Linked DNA regions of Homo sapiens: regions 1 and 2 are each linked to region 3. Evidence: promoter capture Hi-C in 16 types of primary human blood cells and fetal thymus (Javierre and others, 2016). All regions are on one chromosome and are shown on one strand. The core of a region is centred on a gene start or on the middle of the fragment in contact, and the rest is flanking DNA. Distances in the headings are between cores, read along the strand shown. Region 1 has its middle 95 kb from the start of KLF13. Region 2 overlaps LINC02352 (long intergenic non-protein coding RNA 2352). Region 3 holds the start of KLF13 (KLF transcription factor 13).

Evidence for each region. Contacts are between HindIII fragments. The CHiCAGO score rates a contact against its expected background, and 5 or more counts as called.
Region 1: a fragment that was not itself captured here is called in contact with the fragment with the promoter of KLF13 in region 3 in 1 of 17 cell types (total B cells); the score reaches 5.2 in total B cells.
Region 2: a fragment that was not itself captured here is called in contact with the fragment with the promoter of KLF13 in region 3 in 16 of 17 cell types (non-activated CD4 T cells, total B cells, neutrophils and 13 more); the score reaches 16.8 in non-activated CD4 T cells.

Annotation. Positions count from the first base shown.
Region 1 is chr15:31,419,327-31,423,569 of GRCh38, reverse strand. It overlaps a transcript of KLF13 not described here and the pseudogene UBE2CP4. Among named protein-coding and RNA genes, the nearest start is that of KLF13, 95 kb to the right of the region's middle. The HindIII fragment of the contact is 5,670 bases long and covers 1-4,243 here.
Region 2 is chr15:31,221,771-31,226,246 of GRCh38, reverse strand. LINC02352 (long intergenic non-protein coding RNA 2352) reads right to left here. Exons shown (of 2, transcript NR_135834.1): 2 at 1,240-2,252. LINC03034 (long intergenic non-protein coding RNA 3034) reads left to right here. Exons shown (of 4, transcript NR_171016.1): 3 at 2,535-2,776; 4 at 2,911-3,480. Among named protein-coding and RNA genes, the nearest start is that of LINC03034, 6.9 kb to the left of the region's middle. RefSeq lists an enhancer at 1-513. The HindIII fragment of the contact is 3,232 bases long and covers 210-3,441 here.
Region 3 is chr15:31,324,750-31,328,788 of GRCh38, reverse strand. It overlaps KLF13 (KLF transcription factor 13), which reads right to left and starts at 1,954. Exons shown (of 2, transcript NM_015995.4): 1 at 1,000-1,954. The coding sequence starts at 1,576. RefSeq lists an enhancer at 2,232-2,745 and a promoter at 1,773-2,829. The HindIII fragment of the contact is 12,301 bases long and covers 1-4,039 here.

The sequences.
Region 1 (4,243 bases), core at 466-2,965, 95 kb before region 3:
ACCTCCGCTTCCTGGGTTCAAGCCATTCTCCTGCCTCAGCCTCCTGAGTAGCTGGGATTACAGGCACCCACCACCACACCCGGCTAATTTTTGTATTTTTAGTAGAGACGGGGTTTCACCATATTGGCCAGCCTGGTCTCGAACTCCTGACCTCACGTGATCCACCCACCTCAGCCTCCCAAAGCGCTGGGATTACAGACGTGAGCCACAGCACCCGGCCCAAGTTATCTGTTTCTTTATTAATCTTCTGTCTGGTTATTCTATGCATTATTGAAAGCAAGGTATTAAAATCTCCTTCTATTACTGTGTTACTGCCTATTTGTCCCTTCAATTCTTTCAACATTTGCTTCATATATTTGAGTGAGCTACTGATATATATATATACGTATATATGTATATATATACATATATATACGTATATATACGTATACGTATACGTATATATACGTATATATACGTATACGTATACGTATATATACGTATATATATGTAATTGTTATATGACTGGAAAATTGATTCTTGCTTTTTTTTATTTGAGAAGGAGTCTCACTCTCACCCAGGCTGGAGTGCAGTGGCGTGATCTCAGCTCACTGCAACCTCTGTCTCCCAGGTTCAAGTGATTCTCCTGCCTCAGCCCCCTGAGTAGCTGGGACTACAGGTGTCCACCACCAAGCCCAGCTAATTTTTTTTGTATTTTTGTAGAGACAGGGTTTTGCCATGTTGGCCAGGCTGGTCTCAAACTCCTGTCCACAGGTGATCAGCCCACCTCAGCCTCCCAAAATGCTGAGATTATAGGCCTGAGCCACTGCGCCCAGCTGAAAATTGATTCTTTTATTGTTATATGTTCATTTTTGTCTCTTGTGACAGTTTTTGTCTTAGAGTCTATTTTGTCTGATATAAATTGGCCAGCACTGCTCTCTTTTGGTTGCAATTTGCATGTAATACCTTTTTCCATTCTTTCACTTGCAGCCTGATATGGTTTGGCTCTGTGTCCCCATCCAGATCTCACCTTGAATTGTAATAATCCCCACATGTCAAGGGCAGGGTAGGTGGAGGTAATTTGATCATGGGGATGGTTTCCCCCATATTCTCATGGTAATGAGTGAGTCTTAGGAGATCTGATGGTTTTATAAGCATCTACCGTTTCCCCTGCTTGCATTCACTCTGTCCTGCTACCCTGAAAAGAAGGTGCCTGCTTCTCCTTTGCCTTTCACCGTGATTGTAAGTTTCCCGAGGTCTCTCCAGCTATGAAGAACTATGAGTCAATTAAACCTCTTTCCTTTATAAATTACCCAGTCTTGGGTATTTCTTCATAACACTGTGAGAATGGACTAATACACAGCCTATATGTATCTTTGTATCTAAGGTGAGTGGGTCTTGAGGTTCTGAAAAATCTATTGAACCACTCTATTTCTTTTTTCTTTTTTTTTTTTTTTTGTTTGTTTGTTTGTTTTTGAGATGGAGTCTTGCTCTGTCACCCAGATTGGAGTGCAGTGGCATGGTCTCAGCTCACTGCAACCTCCGCCTCCCAGGTTCAAGCTATTCTCCTGCCTCAGCCTCCTGAGTAGCTGGGATTACAGGTGCACGCCACCATGCCCTGCTAATTTTTTATATTTTTGGTAGAGATGGGGTTTCATCATGTTGGCCAGGCTGGTCTCGAACTCCTGACCTCAGGTGATCTGCCCGTCCTGGCCTCCCAAAATGCTGGCAATACATGTGTGAGCCACCGCGCTCGGCCAGCCCTCTATTTCTTTTTATTTACACATATAAAAATTACTGACAGGAAAGGACATACTTTGCCATTTTGTTGATTGTTTTTTGTATACTTTGCAGTTATTTTGTCCCTTTTCCTTTCTTGCTGCCTTTCATTAGGTTTTGTTAATTTTTTTTTAGTGACAAGTTTGATTCCTTTCTCATTTTCTTCTGTATATCTTCTACAGATATTTCCTTTGTGATTACCATGGGGATTAAGTATAATACCTTATCATTATAGCCATTTATTTTAAGCTGACAAAAACTTAATATCAATTACATAAAAAATTTTACATCTCCCCTACTTTATGTTATTTATTTCACAAATTGCATATTTTTATATTTTATGTTCATTAACAAAGTTTGATAATTATAGTTCTATTTATACTTTTTCAAATTTTATACCAGGATTAAATGTGATTTATGTACCACCATTAGAATATTATACAATTCTGTACTTTTCCATATACCTCCCTTTACTGAGTGCTTTATATTTTTTACGCCGTTGTGTTGCTGTCAAGTGTCCTTTTGTTTCAACTTGAAGAACTCCCTTTAGCATTTTTTTGTAAGGTAGATTTAGTGTGGATAAACACCTTCAGCTTTTATTTTTCTGGGAAGGTCTTTATTTCACCTTCATTTTTTTTTAATAACCAAAATGTATTTATTTAATATACATCACAATGGCTCAACCGAGGCTTAATTTAAAAGACAAAAACAAAACAAAAATAATACCACAGCTGAAGATACAGAGTCCTATACAGAAATCACAGACAGGACAGACCATCAAAGGAAAACTTAAAAAGGCAACACAAAGATAGGCAGGGAAGCCAGGCATGGTGGCTCATGCCTGTAATCCCAACACTTTGGGAGGCCAAGGCGGGCAGATCACCTGAGGTCAGGAGTTTGTGACCAGCCTGACCAACATGGTGAAACCTTGTCTCTACTAAAAATATCAAAATTAGCCGGGCATGGTGGCAGGTGCTTGTAATCCCAGCTACTCGGGAGGCTGAGGCACGAGAATCGTTTGAACCTGGGAGGTGGAGGTTGCAGTGAGCTGAGATCTCACCACTGCACTCCAGCCTGGGCAACAGAGCAAGACTCCATCTCAAAAAAAAAAAAAAAGAAAGAAAAAAAAAGGACAGTCTGGGCAGCCTGGGTCAGGGGTCCTGGCTGGTAACCTGCTTTGAATAGGTTTCTTGAAGGTAAAAGCTGTAGGGTTTTTCCAGAACTCAACAGCATGCATGTTCAAAGGGCTATCAATGTTGGGTTCTCCTAGCAGGCTCTGGATGGAGACCAGAATGGTCCTGATGCCATACAGTACAGACGACTTGTCTTTCCAGATATCCAGGCATATGTTACCCTGGGTGTCTATGTTGGGGTGGTAGCAGGATGTGAGGAACTTCACTGTGGGCTCATTGTAAGGGTAGCCACTGGGGAACTCTAGCAAGAGCTTATACCTCAGGTCTTCATACACTGTGCCAGCTGCTCCATGGATGGTCCCTACCCATTTGAAAAGGTTGTCTGATTCAAGGAAAGCAGAAATCCCTTTGTCACCAGATATCATGAGGGTCATCAGCTCCTGCTGTAGTCTTTTGCCCACAGGATTCTGGGCAGCACCCCCACTCAGCTCGGCTCTTTTATGGGTGGCGACGACACTAGTGGCTGCTGGGTTATGGTCTTGGGAGACCACTTGGCTGCCTTCTCCTTCATTTTTGAAGAACAGTTTTGTTGGTTATAATATTCTTGGTTGACAAAAGGTTTTTTTCTTCCAGCACTTTGAATATAACATCTCACTCCTTTCCAGCCTATAATGTTTCTGCTGAGAAATCAGCTGATAATCTTACAGTAGCTCCCTTGTACATACAAGTGGCTTTTCTCTTGCTATTTTCAAGACTCTCTCTTTATCCTTGACTTCTGATACATCAAACTGTCCTTGATAGTTTGATTACAATATGTCTCAGTGTGGGCATCTTTGGGTTCTTCTTTGTCAGCATCCTTCGAGCTTCTAGAATTTGGATGTCCATTTTCTTCCTTAGATTTGGAAGTTTGGGCCATTATTTCTTCAAATAAGCTCTCTGCCCTTTGCTCTCTTTCTTCTTTTTAACTCCTATAACATGTATATTGATAGGCTTGATGATTTTTCATAAGTCCCTTATGCTTTCTTCACTTTTACTAATCCTTTATTCTTTTTGTTCCTGTGACTTGATCATTTCAAATTATCTGTCTTCAACTTCACTGATTCTTTGTTCTGCTTGATCAAGTTGTCTATTGAACCCTTCTAGCGAATTTTATAATTCAGTTATTGCAATCTTCGGCTCTGGAATTTCTATTTGTTTTTTCTTCCTTAGTTTTTGTCTCTTTGATCATATTGTCACTTTGTTAATGCATTGTTTTCTGGATTTGTTTTTAGTTGTCTATCTGTGTACTCTTGTATCACATTGAAGTTCTTTAAGACAATTATTTTGAATTCTTTTTCAGGTCATTAATTGAT
Region 2 (4,476 bases), core at 576-3,075, 100 kb after region 3:
CCAATCAGCGCTCTGTGAAATGGACCAATCAGCAGGATTCTAAAAGTAACCAATCGCAGGGAGGATTGAGAAAAGGGCATTCTGATAGGACAGGAACAGGACATGGGCGGGGACAAATAAGAGAATAAAAGCTGCCTCCCCCCCAACCCTTCTCCACACGGAGCCAGCAGAGGCAACCTGCTGGGGTCCTCTTCCGTGGTGGGGAAGCTTTGTTCTTTTGCTCTTCACAATAGCTCTTACTGCTGCTCACCCTTTGGGTCCTTGTCTTCTTTGAGAGCTGTAACACCAGGAAGGTCTGGGGCTCCATTCTCAAAATCAGCAAGACCACAATCCCACTGGAAGGAACCAACTCCGGACCCACCACTCCCTCCTATTACAGGCCCACTGCAGGTGCTTTGCTGAGTCTAGTAGAGAATCCTGCCTGAGCCCCGGCCAAGAGTGGGAGCCAGCCAGGAGCGGGGGAGGGAAGGCAAGTGCGAGGGGGAATGGCCCGTGCAAAAAGATCCCCAGCAGGGCACAGCAGGCAACTGAGGACCAAGTCCAGCTGTGCCTACCGAGATCCACTGTGGAGACCATGATGCAGTACACAGAGCACATGGTCCCAGGCAAAACCGAGCAAAATAGAGGACTCCCTGTGCATACCCACCGGCGAGCTGCACCTCACACCGGAAGAGGGAGAGCTTGGCGACCTTTTGCGGCGTGCCAGCCCCTCAGGGAAGGCCGGGTTGTGTCACCTGTCGGGCTCAGGCTCCAGTTCTGACTTAAAAACTCTGATGCTCATGCCTGTAATCCCAGCAGTTTGGGAGGCAGAGGCCCACGGATCACGAGGTCAGGAGTTTGAGAGGCACCTAGCCAACAGGGTAAAACCCCGTCTCTACCAAAAATACAAAAATTAGCCGGGCGTGGCGGGCACCTGTAATCCCAGCTACTCCGGGAGGCTGAGGCAGGAGAATCGCTTGAAACCAGAAAGCGGAGGTTACAGTGAACCAAGATCACGCCACTGCACTCCAGCCTGGGGGAAAGAGTGAGACTCCATCTCAAACAACAACAACAAAAAACTCTGAGGCTGTTTTCTCATCTGTAGAATGGGGTGACACTACGGCAGCCCCTGACACTGTGAACCCTAACATCAGCAAGCACTTCTCAGTGGGTGTGTTAGAGGAAAGTGGTCCCGATCCAGACCCCAAGAGATGGTTCTTGGATTTTAGGCAAGAAAGAATTCAGGGCGAGTCCACAGAATAAAGTGAAAGTAAGTTTATTAGGAAAGTAAAGGGGTAAAAGAACGGCTACTCCATAGACAGAGCAGCCCCAAGGGCTGTGGGTTGCCCATTTTTATGGTTATTTCTTGATGATATGCTAAACAGGAGGTGGATTATTCATGCTTCCTCTTTTCAGACCATATAGGGTAACTTCCTGATGTTGCCATGGCATTTGTAAACTGTCATGGTGCTGGTGGGAGTGTAGCAGTGAGGACCACCAGAGGACACATCTTGTTGCCATTTTGGGTTTTAGCCAGCTTATTTACTGCAGCCTGTTTCATCAGCAAGGTCTTTATGACCTGTATCTTGTGCCGACCTCGTATCTCATCCTGTGACTTAGAATGCCTTAACCATCTGGGAATGCAGCCCAGTAGGTCTTAGCCTTATTTTACCGGCCCCTATTCGAAATGGAGTTGCTCTGGTTCAAATGCCTCGGACAGGTGCGGAGGGAGGGTGGTGAGTGGAGCCCACCCACCACCAAGTCACACGCACCCACATTCCTTCTGAATCGTATTTTCTAGGCATCTTACTAATATAATCCCCACAACAACGAGCTGCAGAAGGTTGTTTCTCTCACAGATTTCTGCATATTCTCTGTACTTGTAGAATTTGGGGGAACAAGTCAAGTTACACAAGCTAATCCCTGAAACGTGAGCCCCACGGCTCCTCAGCCCTCTCCCAGAGCCGGTGGCCTGCGTGCCAGGTCCCCGACAAATGCTGGCTCCATGGCAGCTGCGATGACTTCCCTCGAGAAGTGCCAGTCCGCAGGGCAATCTCGAGGTCCTCGTGCGGGTGACCAGCTGCGGCACGGCCAGCACGGCACAGGGAGGGAGGGGCTGTGCTGACCCTCAGGTGTCTCGCGGGGGCCCTTGGCGGTCCCAGCAGAGGGTTTGCCCGTGAGAAGGTCTGGAAGTGCTGCTTCTTACAGGGCTGCCTTCAATTATTTCAGCTGCTCCGAGGTATTTCAAAGTCAGACCAAATAAACATTTGTATCTAAAAAAGGCGAAACAGGGTCATTTGAAATGGAGAAGAAAGCCTTTCCCGTATCCGGAGGGTGTGGCCCGACATTCCGGAGCAGCGGCAAGGGTTCTCTCTGGTTCTGTGCCTGTGCCAGGGCACCTACCCCAGCCCCTGCTTCAGGAGGGAAGTTATTTTCTTTTAAATCAAATGTGTGGCGACCTAAGTTTCCTTTCCCTGATTTGCTCCGTGGTCACCCTGGGCCCCCTGCTGCTGTCAGGTCAACATCTTTAAAGGGCTCTCTGTGCTTTTCCTAAGAAGGGGACCACAACAGACTCGACAGGATCCACCGGTTGGGCCCAAGGCAGGAGGAAGGGCGGCGCCCCCAAACTCCCAGGACGCCTGCAGCACCCCCCACGCGCCGCTCTCCGCCTCTGGGGAGCATCCTGCCACCCCCCGACACACACACCCCGGCTACATCCCGCCTTCTCACGCTTGGTCAGGCGCTCTGGAGATGTCGGAGATCCAGGCTTTTCCTAAAGAGTCAGGATTGGAAGGCGGTGAGGGCATCAGGTTTTTTTTCTTCTCTTTTCTTCTAGCAATTACGCCCCCGTGGCTAAATTAAACTCCCATTGGCTAAATTAGGCTCGAAGAGAGGGGCACCTGCTGCTAAGCTGTGTATGTTGTCCCCTAGGACTCCCACCGTTTGCTGAGCTCCACATGACAACAGCAGACGACAGGCCGCACTGATCCCACCTGGCTTACAGGTGCTGTCACACAGGTACGCCTTCTTGTGAATCATCAGTCACCATTTGCCCCTCGCAGCAACCCTGTCTTGGAGGAAGGTCCTTGCCGACACCCGCCTCTCCCCACCCTTAGGCTCCCTTGCTCCTTCATTCAACCATTGTTTACATGTCGTTCAGGACTGCTGACTAAACACTTTCAAGCACAGTGGACCCTTGAACAACGCAGGTTCAAACTGTGCAGGTCCACCCACAGGGATGTTTTTCAATCAGAGTTATACCAAGTGTCCCTGCCTCTCCTGCCTCCCTTCCCACTTCCTCCATGTCTTCCTCTCTGCCACCCTGAGGCAGCAAGACCAGCCCCTCCTCCTCAGCCACTCAACATGAAGACAACGAGGATGAAGACTTCTATGATAATCCACTTCCACTTAGTAAATGCTTTCTCTTATGATATTCTTAATGACATTTTATTTTCCCAAGCTTAGTTTATTGTAAGAATACAGTATAAATACACATACAAAGTACGTGTTAACTGATTTTTTAATGTTACCAGTAAGGCTTCCAGTTAACAGTAGGCTATTTATTAGTTAAGTTTGGAGGGAGCCTGAAGTTATACAAGCTCTGACTGCGTGAGGGGTTGGCTCTCCAACCCTCACATTGTTCAAGGCTCAACTGCACCTCTCCTACCTATCTCCCCCACCCTCTGATGTAGTAGGATAAATATAAAAACACTTAGAAATCCTTGAAAACCAGGAAAAATGCCACCAACAGACTAGAACATTGGAGAATTTCTGGAAGATATAAAGCGGAGGAGATCAGATTCGTGGTGAAACGCAATAGAGCCAATGGCCTGCAGGTGGGAGACCATTTCAAGTCTGGAAATGGGGTAGGGTGGGGGCAGTGGAGAAGGAATGAGTCATGGAGCTTGGATACGGTAATCACACAAACGGCTACCCAGGTGGCTGAGGCAGTGTCCTGCCTGTCCCCAGGGTAAAGTCTGAGTGCAGCATTCAGACTGAAGACAAAGATGCACCGGGAGCCTCCAGAGCCAACACTGGCCCAAAGAGAGAAGCAGGGGCCCGCCCAGGTGACTGCCAGGCACTGTCAGCCACACTGACAGGGAGAGCGGCCCAGATGAGAGGCCCAGGAAGGCACTCTGCCTTTGCAACGTCCTGGCCTGTCTCCATGACCACAGGTGCCCAGTGGTGCCAGGGTTGCCAGACAGTGGTGGTTTAGTTGTGTGCAAGAACTACTCTGCACAGCAAGAATGATTGGTTGAGACTGACAGATCGCAAACACACTGCATTCAGGAACCCTTCACCCTCTCTTAGAAATGGCTGAGGGTCTCAGCGGGCTTTCATTCATATGAGTTTATCTATCAATATTTACGGTAGTAGAAGTTCAAGTGAAAAATAAATAAATATTCATTTATCTTAAAATAATAATGGCATGTTAACATAAATAACACTTATACATGCTGGGTGTGGTGGCTCACGCCTGTAATCCCAGCACTTTGG
Region 3 (4,039 bases), core at 705-3,204:
CATTAAAATATTTTCATCTTTATGTTAAAAACGAAACAAAAAGGGGGGAGGGAACCGCCACAGATGAATCAACTACAAAGTATCGGGCCGCGCGTGGGAACTGTTGCCGCTGGGCTGGCGGGGGCGGGCGGTGATCCCCAGGCTGGAGGCTCAGCGCCCGCCCTGGTGCAGGTGCCGCCCGCCCCGCACCGGCCCAGGGCAGGTGAGAGGTGGGCAGGCGAGAGGGCAGCACGGAGGATGGGCAGCGGCCAGGGCATTCCTTTCCGGAGAGAGCCTCGAGGCCGAGGAGCCTAGGGCCGGGCGCGCCCCCGCCGGGCCGGATGGGCGGGGGCTCCCACAAAGAGCCGCAGGCGGGGAGCGGGACCCGGGACCGCCCCCCGCATCGCCAAGCGCCGCCGCTGACTTTGGTTACGACAAATTAAACCTTAGAGCGCTGGAAAAATTACAGGAAGAAGAGAGCGAAGAATGTGCCGAGTGGCGAAGGAAACCTTGTCCCTGCGTGAACTTCGCCCGCCGCGCGCCGGGGCCGGCCCCTCCCCTCCTGAGCGCGCGCCCGGGCAGCGGGGGAGGAAACGAGGAGGGACCCCGGAGAGCGTCCCCTGCCCCCGCTCCGGGCGCCCCACCGTCACGAGTGCCGCCTGCGGTCCACACCCAGGCCGCCCGCACCTGCCCGCGCCGCCTCCCGGCCGGGAGGGGTCCCCGCCCCCAGCCCAGATGACTATATCCGCCCCCGCGGCCCCACCCGAGCGCGCCCGGGGAGGGGGCGTGCCCGGCGGGGGCGCGGTCGCCTGGCGGGCGCCGGCTCCGAGAGCCAAGACCCGCCTCGCGCGACGCGCGGGGCCAGCCGCGGGTCGGAGCGGCAGGGGAAGGGGCGAGGCCCCGGGCGTTCCGGCCCGCCCGGCCCCCACCTCGCGCCCCATCGGGGACTCCGGGGGCGTGGTCGGGCAGCTCGCGCCGACCCCGTCCGCGCGATCCGGGCGCCCGCGCCGCCCCACTGACCTGTGTGAGTTCTCAGGTGCGCCTTGAGGTGCGAAGATTTCCCGTAAACTTTCTCGCAGCCCGCGTAGTGGCACTTGTGCTTCCTCTGCGGGGACTCGAGGTCGGCGCGACTTCGGCCCCGCCGGACCCTTTGTCTGAGGCCGGGCTCGCCGCTCCCCGCGGGCCCCGGCTCCCGCTCGGGCTCCAGCCCCGCCTCGGGCTCCGGCTCGCTCCACGCCGGGCTGGGGGGCGCGGCCGCCGCGCCTTCGGCGCCGGGGGAGGTGGGCTCGGGGGCGGGCGGCGGCAGGCGGCAGGGGGTCCTCGCCTTCCGGGCCGCGGCGCCCTCCCTGCGCTCCGCCGGGGCGGGCGCCGGCGCTTGCTGGTTGAGGTCCGCTAGGATCCGCGCCACCACGAAGAGCGAGGCGCTGTCCTTACCGTCGCGGCGCTCCTCGACGCGGGGCAGCGTGGGGGTGGCGGCCACGGCCGCGCCCTCGGGCCGGGACTCCGGCCCCTCCCGCGGCCCGTGCACGACCGCGCGGCTCGACATGGACACGAGGCACTCGGCGGCGAAGTGGTCCACATAGGCGGCGGCTGCCATGCTGCGGGCTGGGGCCGGCGGCGGTGCTCTTGCTGCGAGTCGTCAGCCGCGCATCCGCACCCACGGCCTCGGGAGAGCGGGCGGGGGGCGGGGGCGCGGCGCGCCCTCTCCTCGGGCTGGGCTGGGCTGGGCTGGGCGCGCAGCCGCCTGTGCCGTCACCCGCGCGGCTCCGCGTCTGCGAGGCGCCGGCCCGGCCGGGCACCGAAGAGTGAGCGCATGGGGCGCGCGGGCGACTGGGGTCCCCGCGCGGCGTCAGGGGCGGCCGGTTCTAAGGATGCCGAGCGGCAACGTTAGGGACCACCTCGCCAAGTCGCGGCCGCAGCTTCGCCGCGCATTGTGGCAGGCGGGACAGCTGCCGTGCGCGCCGCGGCTCCGTGTGGGCGGCCCGGCCCCGGGGGTGGGCGGGGCCGGGGCCACATCTGGACCCGACGTCAGCCCCCAGCCACATCCTGGCGGCGCAGGTTACAGGCGGCGGCGGCTGCGGGGAGCTGCGCGCGCGGAGGGGGCGGGGACCCCAGAGCGCGCACCGGCGGAACGGAGCGGTCGCGTGCCCGCGCCTGGGCAAGGGGGCGTGACCGAGGGCCGGGACAGACGCCATTGGTCCGTGAGTGCACGGCCAGGCCAATCCGAGCCGTTAGAGGGGCGTGCCCGGTCCCGGGCCCTGCGCGCGCCAGTGGGCGTGTCCCCTGGGCCGGTGGGAGGAGGGGCGGAAACTGGAGCGGGGCGCGCTGACGCATGACGTCCGGGGGCGGCGGGCCGGGTAGTCGCGGCGCGGAGCGGCTGCTTGTACCCCCCGCGGCGGGGACACAGCGAGCACTTCTCTGCCGGAGCTTTTATGTGGTGACAGCCTTGGCCCCCGGCATGGAGGGGAGCGGTTTCTGGAGGGCGCCATTTGTTCCTCCCGCGATGGGCGCCGGCGGGGAGGCGTGTCTGCCCGGCCGGGCGCGGGGCTGCCTAGGGGCGGAACGCACTCGCGCCGCGCCCTCCGCCGCCGGCTTGCCGGGTGGCCGCGCCTAGAGCCTCAGGCCGCTCGCCCTCCCCACGCCCCTGCCTTGCAGAGCTCCGGGAGTCCGGGCGGGGCAGCTCCCGCGGGAGGGACAGACTCGGGCTCGTTCCTGGGGTCCGGGGTGCGGCCGCGCTGCCCTTCAGCTCGGGTCAGCCCGAGCAGGACTGGCCTCGGCTGGCGGTGAGCCTGGCAGCCCGGGTGGCGCGCCCACCGCGGCCTGTGCCTCCAGAAGCGAACTACGTGCCAGGGCGGCCGGCGCCGCTGCTGAGGGAACGCGGGGCCCCTTCCTCCCCATCCCGCCGCAGGCCCGCTGCCAACTCTTCTAGGCTGCCCCTCTCCCACCGCGGTCGGGGGGGCTTCAAACGCCACCAGCTGCGAGGACCCCGCCCACCGCGCCCCACCCGCCCGCTGTCTGGGCCTCCCGGAGGAAATGCTCGGCTGCGCCCAGCCCGCGCCTCCCAGCCCGGGCTGGGCCACCTTGCCCTTGACTCTCACGGTAACCCCTACCCCAGCCCGCGGCCCCAGCCATTCTCCAGGCCTGGGCCGTCCTCGGAGACGCCGGTGAATAACTTCCCACCGCCGCGGAACCGGGCTCAGCAAACCCCCTACTGCCTCGCCCCGTTGCATTGTGCTTAATGGACGTTCGAAGGAGTCAGCCACCCTTGCTGTGTTCTGAGAGGAGCCTGGAGAATGAAGGAGCCCGGGCACTCACCCTCAGTGGACCCTCGCAGTGGGAGGGGGGTGTCATTCTTCTCTCAGAATTAAGGTTAATAGCCGAGTTCGAGTTCTCACCAAATTAATTTGGGGTTGGAGCTCAGTAAGACTGGTTTTCAGGTAACCGACGAGGGACCGAAACGGCCATTCTGGGTTGCGTGTTACGGTGAACAGCAAACTGCATGGATGTTTGAGCACCCTCAGTATCTGTAACTAAAACCCTGAAATGCGGTCTCGCTGATTGAGTTGCTACCCTCTGGGGAGACTAAAGGTGCTGGACTGGGTCTGGTCCCTTTAGGAGGGTCTGTGCTTGGTAGAAAGTAATCGTGTTTCTTCCAGGCAGATTGTGTTGATGACATTTAATAAGAGACGTGTGTCCTGACCAAGTAATGATTCGGAATGTTCCTCTATTCCCACCACATGTCACAATTAGTCACTTCTTAAGGAAGGAGTGGTCCTACACCAGCTTATCAGCCACCCATACCCTCCTGGCCCCTTTCCAGCCAGCAGAATTCTCCCCAATCTTCAAGGTGCCACGTCTCCCCACTGGGTCACCCCAGCCGGCATACACAATGGTAGGCCGTCTAGAGTCTGCACTATTCTAGTATTAGGCTACTACAGCCATGAACAAAACAGGCCTGCCTTGGGTGAGGGGATGCCCTACGTGGTCAAGGGTCCTCTGCATTGATGCACCCCCCTAAGAGTTTTCCAAGAATGTGGGTCCCAAAGAATTTTGACTGTGC